3 separate regions of the Homo sapiens genome follow, and regions 1 and 3 are each linked to region 2. The links are contacts of gene promoters, found by promoter capture Hi-C in human tissues and cell types (Jung and others, 2019). All regions are on one chromosome and are shown on one strand. Each heading gives the region's core, a stretch centred on a gene start or on the middle of the fragment in contact. The rest is flanking DNA. Distances are from core to core; before and after follow the strand shown.

Region 1 (2,700 bases), core at 118-2,617, 140 kb after region 2:
TGTGAGTGTTTGATTCCTCACTCCCCTGGTGGCTGGGAATTGCCCTGGAAGGCACTGGTGCTTGTGGAGGGAGAAATGGCAATGTCTGGGTGTGGGTGCTGTGGGCCTGGGTGCTGTGGACGTGGGTGCTGTGCACGTGGGTGCTGTGGGCCTGGGTGCCGTGGGCCTGGGTGCCGTGGACGTGGGTGCATGGCACAGATGGGCGGCCACCTGAACGAGTGGGAGGAGTGCAGTCCCAGGCCCTCCCAGAGACTGTGCCATAGTCTCCACCCCAAGTGACGGTGGAGGGATGCTGGGAACGGTAAGCTTTAATGCTTGGTGAATCTTGCATTGCCTCATTCATGACCGGTAGGTCACGTGGTCATCTGACACTTCCATCTCTTCCGAGGCCCAGTGGAAAGCCAGGAGCTGGGTCTCCAAAGGAAAATGGTTACTTTCAGAAGAGGGCATGATTTTTCTCCAAAACGCTGGGTGGCTGAGCTGGGATTCTTCTGAAGGGTTTGTCGGAAGCTCCACACGGCATCCCTGTCTGACACGGACCTGTTGTCACCGTCTGATTTGCTGAGACACGCGTGCAGAGGTGCCTGATGGCAGCCTGGACCTGCTACAGAGCCTTCTGCTGCTGTAGGCCCCTTCAAAACTGACAGCCTCGGAGGCTTCCATATGGTCGAAGCAGCCTGCTTCAATATGGTGCATGAGCTCTCTGGGGTCTAAAAAGGCCTACCAAGCAGCATTGTGCCACCTTCTTAGTGCAAAGAACAGGAAGTTGGGTCAAGTATCTTATTATTATTATTATTAATCATTATTGTTGAGACAAGGTCTCACTCTGTTGCCCAGGCTGGAGTGTGGTGGTGCCATCACAGCTCACTGCAGCCTTGAACTCCTGGGCTCAAGCGATCCTCCTGCCATGGCCTCCCAGAGTGCTGGGATGACAGGTGTGAGCCCATGCCTGGCTGGGGGCACATATCTTCATATATCCCAGACCACAGGATGTCTAGAAATTTCACTGAAATGACAGAATCCTTCATTTTGTGAGGTGCGTCTCCTACTATGGAGGCACGAAAGGGCCTTACTAAGACAGTTAGAGTATTTACTACTTCCTGCCACCAGGTCTGATCTCCATTACACCATCGGCATAGTGAACTGGCACTTTGTCCCATGGGATGGCCAGGACTGAGATGGTCAAGGGCCCTGAGGTCTATATTTTGACAAAGGGATGGACGATGGGCACAGTTCTGAGAAGCACGAGCCGGGGTGTATTGCTGTCCCTGCCAGGTGAAAGTAGCCTTCCCCTGTGGCTCAGCTGTTGTGTGTGGAAGGAAACGTTGGTCAGATGAGTTTCCTCATGGAAGCCATGGCTGGGTGTTCCATCACACGAGGTACATCTGGAGGGGCAGATGCAATTGGAGTCCCCACCCGATTGTGTTTGCAGCCATCCACAGTCACTCTCCAAAATCCACCTCTGTCCTTCACAGGCCAAAGAGGTGAAGCAAAACGATGTGATAGGAAGCTGAGATATCGGCTGGGCACAGTGGCTCACACCTGTAATCCCAGCACTTTGGGAGGCTGAGGCGGGTGGATCACCTGAGGTTGGGAGTTTGAGACCAGCCTGGTCAACATGGTGAAACCCTGTCTCTACTAAAAATACAAAATTAGCCGGGCATGGTGGCGCACGCCTGCAGTCACAGCTACTCGGGAGGCTGAGACAGGAGAATTGTTTGAACCTGGGGGACAGAGGCTGCGATGAGCCAAGATCACACCACTGCACTCCAGCCTGGGCGACAGAGCAAGACTCTGTCTCAAACAAACAAACAAAAAAAGAGGAATCCAGGATACCGTTGCCAGTATGCACTGTAAATCTTTCTCCTAGATTTCTCTGAAGAAGTCTGCAGCCCTTTGGCAGCGTGGCTGCAGATGGAAGGAAGGAAACAGTTCGCCCTGGAGAATGGCTAGGCAGCACCTCTGAGCCGAGCATCCCACCCGCTCTGACTGGCCCACAATCGTGGGGCCAGTGGTATCTCAGAGCCCTTCTGTAAGGAGGTCTGGTCCCCCGGCATTCAGGGGTTCTGAGCTGCTCAGTTCTGGGATATGGGGAAAAGCCAGGATTCTCCACCATGCTGGCTGACGCCATTTCTCTGTTCACCAGACCTACAGGGTTTTGTCACTTACAGTGATTGCCATGGTCTGAATGCTTGTGTCCTCCTCGAAAGGTAGGTATTGAAACCTAATCACCAAGGTGATGGTGTTGGGAGGTGGGACCTTCAAGAGGTGGCAAGGTCATGGGGGCAGAGCCCTCATAAATGGATTGGTGCCCTTATGAAAGGGGCCCATGGGAGCCTTGTTTGCCCCATGTACGGGTGCAGCCGGAAGTTGCTGTCTGAGAGGAAACTGGCCTCCACCAAACACAGCTGGCACCTTGGTCTTGCACTTCCAGCCTCCAGAACTGTGAGACATGTTTCTGTCATTTATAAGCCACCCAGATCTTTAATGATATTTTTGTTATGGTAGCCCAAACAGACTAAGACAGAGACCAGAGAACACTTTGGCAGGCTACTTACGTGTTTTAGTCCTGGGGACACTTCAATCAGTTAGACATTCCCCAAAGTCCTACAGGGTGAAGGACACAGTTGCTGCCCTGGCCCTGTCACCCATTGAGACCAGGACACCCCATTGTGCTGGAGCTGCTACCTGGTTGCCAAC
Region 2 (2,700 bases), core at 130-2,629:
CACGTCTCTGCCAACACTTCCTACTTCCTGTGTTTCTTGATCCCCGCCATCCTATTGAGCGTGAGACAGGTCAGAAGCTTTGAAGATGGGCTTTCGTCTTGTCCCAGAAATCCCACCTCTAAGAATTTAACTTCAGAAAGACAAACGCGGGGGAGCTGGTGCAGGGCCCGTGACGGGGACTGTGACGTAAATAAAACAACAGACCTGGACACCACCCTAGGGTCCCCATGGGGCCGGACGAGGCCACACCACCCGACCTGGTGCTTCCTGCCTGGCGTCTGCGCCACGGAGCATTCAGGACGCTGGTGACCAGGGAGCCAGGAGGTGGGAGCATCTGAGGTGCAGGTCACACGGGCAGGAGGTGTTTGCAAGAGGTATTGCAGCGCGGACGGAGTGTCCTGCAGATGACGCTGTCTGTCCTGTAGATGACGCTCGTCAAGGAGGTTTACCACATAGCCCCCAGGAAGCCCACCCGACACCAGCCGGAGGTGCTAGGCTTCTGCGGCTCCCACCTGGGGCAGGCGGAGGACCCCGGGCAGGTCCAGGACCCCCCGGAGCAGCTGCTTCCTCAACCCTGCCAGGGTTAATGAGGAGGCCCCAGAGTGAGGTGGAGGCCAAATGGGACTCAGGGCCGGAGCCTCTGGCCTGGCTGGATCAGGGCTGGCATTGGACAAGCGCAGCTGACTCCCGATGTGCATGGCCAGGAGACACTCTGGGCCTCAGTTTCCCCTTGAATGTGAACCTTGAAACAGATCAGCCCAGAGACCTCCCACGGTCTTCAAGGGGCTCTGGTCAGCTGGGCTGGGGTCTCTGGAAATAGAGCCTCCTCCAGGGACCCCCACAAGCCACCCAGACTGAGCATCCTGGCCATGTGCATGCCTGAGCTCAGCAGGAGCCTCCCGGCCTCCCCGTGGGCTAAGCAGTGGTGGGAGGGGAGCTCCAGCCTCGTGGGCCCTCCCCGGGCCTCGGGGACCCATGGTCAGTGGCTGGGGGTGCTGCCCAGAGGCTGGGATTCCCTTCCAGCAGGAGCCGCAGTGGGGCTGAGTGTGAGGCAGGCTGGCTGACCACTGTTTCCATGGACCCTGCGTCCAAGGCCAGCCCTGCCTTCCAGCGGCTTTGCCATCTAGGACGGGTGCCAGGTGGGGTAGGCCCTTCTCTCCCTTCCGATTCTCAGAAGCTGCTGGGGGTGGGGGCGTCCTGGGCCTCAGGGCACAGAGCTGCAAATCCTTCCTGATCCAGGCCTCTCCCCTGCCACAGCCCCTCCCCGAGAGCAAACACACGTGGCTGGAGCGGGGAAGAGCATGGTGCCCTGCGTGGCCTGGCCTGGCTTGGGGCCAAGGCTCCCTGCTACATAAGCTGGGGCCCCCAGGGGAGCAAGCACCCGGCCCGGCTCCCTCCCTGCCCGTCCCCGTCCCCCCACCCGTGCCAGCCCCCAGGATGGGTGCCCCGAGCGCGTGCCGGACGCTGGTGTTGGCTCTGGCGGCCATGCTCGTGGTGCCGCAGGCAGGTAAGAGCCCCCCACTCCGCCCCCTCTCGATGCTGTCTTCACGGCGGGGGTCTCTGCAGGTCGCTTGCCTGGGAGCTTCTCCTGCAGAGTGCACGGGCAGATCCCCCTACGACTCCCTGAGTGTCCTGGATGGGACCCTACCCGTCCCCAACACAGGGCTCTGGGGCCCCACGGGCTCACAGTGTCAGGAAACTCAGGGGCTGGCTTGGATGGGGTGTCCAGGAGAAGGTGGGCCCCTGACCGCAGGGCAAGGCCCCTGGGAGACCACCGAAAGGGTCTTGGTCTTGGGGGTGGGACAGGAGTGGGCAATGGGGGAGGGGGTCACAGCTGGGGGTCTCTCTGGAGCCCCATGAGGCCCAGGCATCAGAGTGAGCAGGGGCAGGCTTAGCGTGGACCCCTGTCCAGGACCGGCTCTACCCTTCACGACCTCCCTGGGGATCACAGCTGGCAGGGCAGGTGAGGGTACCACCCTCAAGGGTTGCACAGCCAGCCGCAAGAGCCCCGGCCTCAACCCACGCTCGACTCCCACGGCCCATCTGTGGGCATCTCATGCCGCACGGGCTGCCTGGCTCTCAGCCGAGCGTTTTCCCTCGTCTGCTGTCTCTTGGCCAGAGCCGCAGCATTAATACTTACTGTCAATAGAGAAAGATGCAGCCCCAGGGGCCACCGGGAGACACCCAGCCGGGCTGGCCATGAGGCTGCTGCAGCCCCTCCCTGCCCCGCCCTCCACCCCCTCCCAAGCTTGGGGTCTGGGCTGGGCAGGTGAGGCTCCCTGGGGTCTCTCTCCATCTGTGGAAGGGAGGCTGGGTGGTCAGCAGGGCTGGAGGCAGGGGGCTTCCCCCAGTGGCTCCCAGCCTGGGCCCGGGGGGAGCTGCGTCTGGCTGCAAGGTTTGGGGGCTGGTTTGACCAGAATAGCCACCTCCTTGCATCTGATTCTTCCGGGCCATGCAGCCTTGGCTCCCCTCACCTGAGCAGGCAGGGCCTAGGGACTCTCAGCCCACCCGTCCTCCTGTCCTCCACGCACGTCCAAGTTGGGGAGATCAAGCCCTTGGCAGGGACTGTGCTTTAGTCACCAGATGCACGTCCTGTGGCCGGGGAAGGCAGCCCTGCACAGAGCAGCTTCATGTTAGGGGACACACCCCAAAGTGATGGGGTGGCTGGTGGTGGGCACTTCTCTGGCTACAAGATGGAGG
Region 3 (2,840 bases), core at 11-2,510, 250 kb after region 2:
GGGGAGCCTGCCAGCCACATGGCTGTACAGGTGTGTGATTAAATGAAGGGGTCATCTTCGTTTTCTCCGCTTCTACATGGCTTCAGTTGTATTCGTTTACACAAGTGCGTGCTGCTGTTTTTCTGTTGTATTTTGAAAGCACACAGAGGCTCCTTCTCTTCCCAGGAAGCTGTGCTGTGGCTCGCCGGCCAGGCCCCACCCTTTGGGAGAGCCCTGCTCTGACTGCTAGAAGCCAAGCCCCTCTCCGGGGAAAGCAGAGGAGGGCGGTGGTCTCTGTGGGTACCTGCGGCTAACAGCCTGGCCAGGACAGGGACCTGGCCCCCTCTTGCCCCTGTACACAAGGGCGGCCAGTCCTCATGTGAGACTCGTGGCCCCAGAGCAGGCTGGAGCATCCTAGGGACATGGACACCCTGGGTTTGCCTCTTACTGTTGGGTCCAGCCATGACAAGGGTGTGCTCTAGTTCATGTTAATATAAGGTGACCCCCAGCCCCTAACACCCCTCCTCCCCCAGCACAACACCAAAACCCAGGGCACCCACCTGGCAGCCACCACCCCTCTCCCCCTGCCACGGTGCTGGGTCTCAGTCCTCCAAGGCCATGCCCACAGCGGCCGCCCCCGCAGGCCTGAACCAGGGCATGCTGGGGCCGATGCCGCAGCCCCACCCACAGGCAGTGGAGAGTGCTGTGGTGGGAGTGCTCACACCTGAGACACAGCCAACACTATGGGTCGGGATTTCCTCCCTGAGAGCCAGCTCCCAGCTCACCACAGGTGGGAATGGGCCACACAGCACAGAGCAGTACTGGCCACTGAGCAAACGCCCCCTCCACACCATGGCCACAACCACCATCGCCTCCACTGCCCCAGCTAGACCAACAGGCAGTCTGCCAGTACCAGGCTCCACATGAACCGCTCCCACCCTCCTCATCCAGTCACGGTTCCTCTTGGAATGGCCCTGGGTGGGGCAGTGCTGAAAAGGATGGACCCAGGCTCCACTCTGGAGGCCACTCTTCTCTTGGCCAGCTCCAAGCATCGTGCCCTGGGTTCCAGAGCCCACCAAGGCACCTGGGGAGACGCCCCAAGGGCTGAGACAGGGCCACGGGGGGCTCGCCCACTTCCTGCGCAGCCAGAGAAGCCATCCTCCCAGCTGGGCACAGGGCCTCCAGTGTCTCCGGGCACAGGGCCTCCAGCGTCTCCGGGCACAGGGCCTCCAGCATCTCTGGGCACAGGGCCTCCAGCGTCTCTGGGCACCCCTCTGCTGTGTCCAAGAAGCCCCTCAGCCTGTGCACTGCAGATCCCGGGGGGAGTCACCAGAGTTACCAAGAAGCTAGAGGATGACACTGCAAGCCCTGCATGCTGGCACCCTGCCCTCTGCAACAGAAACAGCCATCAGGCCACCTCCCAGCACCACCAGGGCCCTAGGACAACCCCCTCCCAGCACCCACCTCCAGAATGCAAACCAGGAGCTCTCATGTGTGCCCTGTGCGGGGCTGACTCAGCCCACCCGAAGGGGAAGTGCAGCCCCAAAATGGACAGGCCATGAGGACGGGGATGCAGTGCCCACACCTGCCTCTCAGGTGCTGTCCTCCCCCTGGGACAGCTCTGCATGACCTTCACGCCCACCTTCCCAGGCTGCAGGCCTCACCGTGGGCATCGCCACCAGGCTGTCAGACCCTCTGAGAATGCAGAGACAACAGTCCTTTCAGCATCTGCTCCTCGAGAATGATGTAGAGGACGCACGTATCCCCACTGTCCTGGGGTTCCCAGATGGTGTAGGGGAGGCCCAGCCCCTAAGGGCCAGGCTGAGGCCCATGTTTCCAGGGCGAGGACCCAGCCAGGATGGCTCAGCACTCTGCAGGAGTCAGACACTGGCTCCAGGTACCCTGACACTGCAAGCTGACATCTGATGCACCTGGCCACAGGTGTGCGACAGGTCTCAAAACAGTGGAGGTTAGAGACGGAAACCCTTTTCCACAATGCAAACCCAGAGAAAGCAGTAACTCAGGGACACTGTGGATTGTCCCATCTGTTCTGAAAGATGGAACACCACTGTTTCCTGTACTTCTTCAATTATCAGTAAACCGTTTCTGGTATATAGTTCTAAGATTTTTATCCACATGTGGACTCACGCATTCATAACCACAATCAGGACACGCGGCGGCTTACGTGGCCCCTCACACCCGTGCTGCTGTGCCCCCAGCACCCCGGGGATGGCTCCTCAGGGATGGGCCGCGGGAAGGAATCGCACCGCGCGGATCCTCCCGATCTGGGCCCCTCTTGCACGGAGGCCCCTGGGATGCAGTCACGTGGCAGACGTGTCGGAAGTCCACGGCTCCTCACTGCCCAGACACTGCCCCTGCAGAGATGGACATGGCGTGCTCATCTATTCACCTGTGTCCCTGCCAGCAGAACAGAGTCCCAGGTGGCCACATCCTGGCCAGCACCAGTGTCCCGACCGGCATGTGGGCAGGTGGACATGGGTCTGCCCATGGTTTCGGCTTGCCTTTCTCTAATTGCTAACAACACAGGATAGCCCCAGCTGCCATCCTTACACCCTCTTTGGCAAACTGTCTGCTCATTTCTTTTGCTGACAGTTAACTGGACTGTTTTGTTTTCTTACTGCTGAGTTGTGTATGTTCTTTATGTATTCTGGATATCAGTCCTTTGTGGGATGTGTGATTTGCAAATGTTTTCTCTCCCAGCCTGGAGTTTGTCTTCTTTCTCTTAAAAGTGTCTTGAAGCAAAAGTTCTGAATTTTGCTGCCTAGTGTCAGGTCATAAGGATTTCCTATGGTTTCTTCCAAAAGCTTTGGAGTTTTAGATGTTTGCACGAGGCATGAGGG

What was found. The method cuts DNA at HindIII sites, captures the fragments that hold promoters and counts their contacts. A contact is called where the count stands out against the background at its distance.
Region 1: a fragment that was not itself captured here is called in contact with the fragment with the promoter of MUC5B in region 2 in 2 of the 25 tissues and cell types used here (IMR-90 fibroblasts and dorsolateral prefrontal cortex).
Region 3: a fragment that was not itself captured here is called in contact with the fragment with the promoter of MUC5B in region 2 in 2 of the 25 tissues and cell types used here (dorsolateral prefrontal cortex and spleen).

Annotation. Positions count from the first base shown.
Region 1 is chr11:1,360,808-1,363,507 of GRCh38, forward strand. LINC02689 (long intergenic non-protein coding RNA 2689) reads left to right here. Exons shown (of 5, transcript XR_930972.2): 2 at 1; 3 at 1,871-2,040; 4 at 2,147-2,210. Among named protein-coding and RNA genes, the nearest start is that of LINC02689, 12 kb to the left of the region's middle. The HindIII fragment of the contact is 4,928 bases long and covers 1-2,700 here.
Region 2 is chr11:1,221,687-1,224,386 of GRCh38, forward strand. It overlaps MUC5B (mucin 5B, oligomeric mucus/gel-forming), which reads left to right and starts at 1,380. Exons shown (of 49, transcript NM_002458.3): 1 at 1,380-1,507. The coding sequence starts at 1,438. RefSeq lists enhancers at 1,221-1,918, 1,919-2,614, 2,615-2,700. The HindIII fragment of the contact is 6,998 bases long and covers 1-2,700 here.
Region 3 is chr11:1,471,657-1,474,496 of GRCh38, forward strand. The region is part of intron 3 of MOB2 (MOB kinase activator 2); the gene reads right to left. Among named protein-coding and RNA genes, the nearest start is that of MOB2, 14 kb to the right of the region's middle. The HindIII fragment of the contact is 6,097 bases long and covers 1-2,840 here.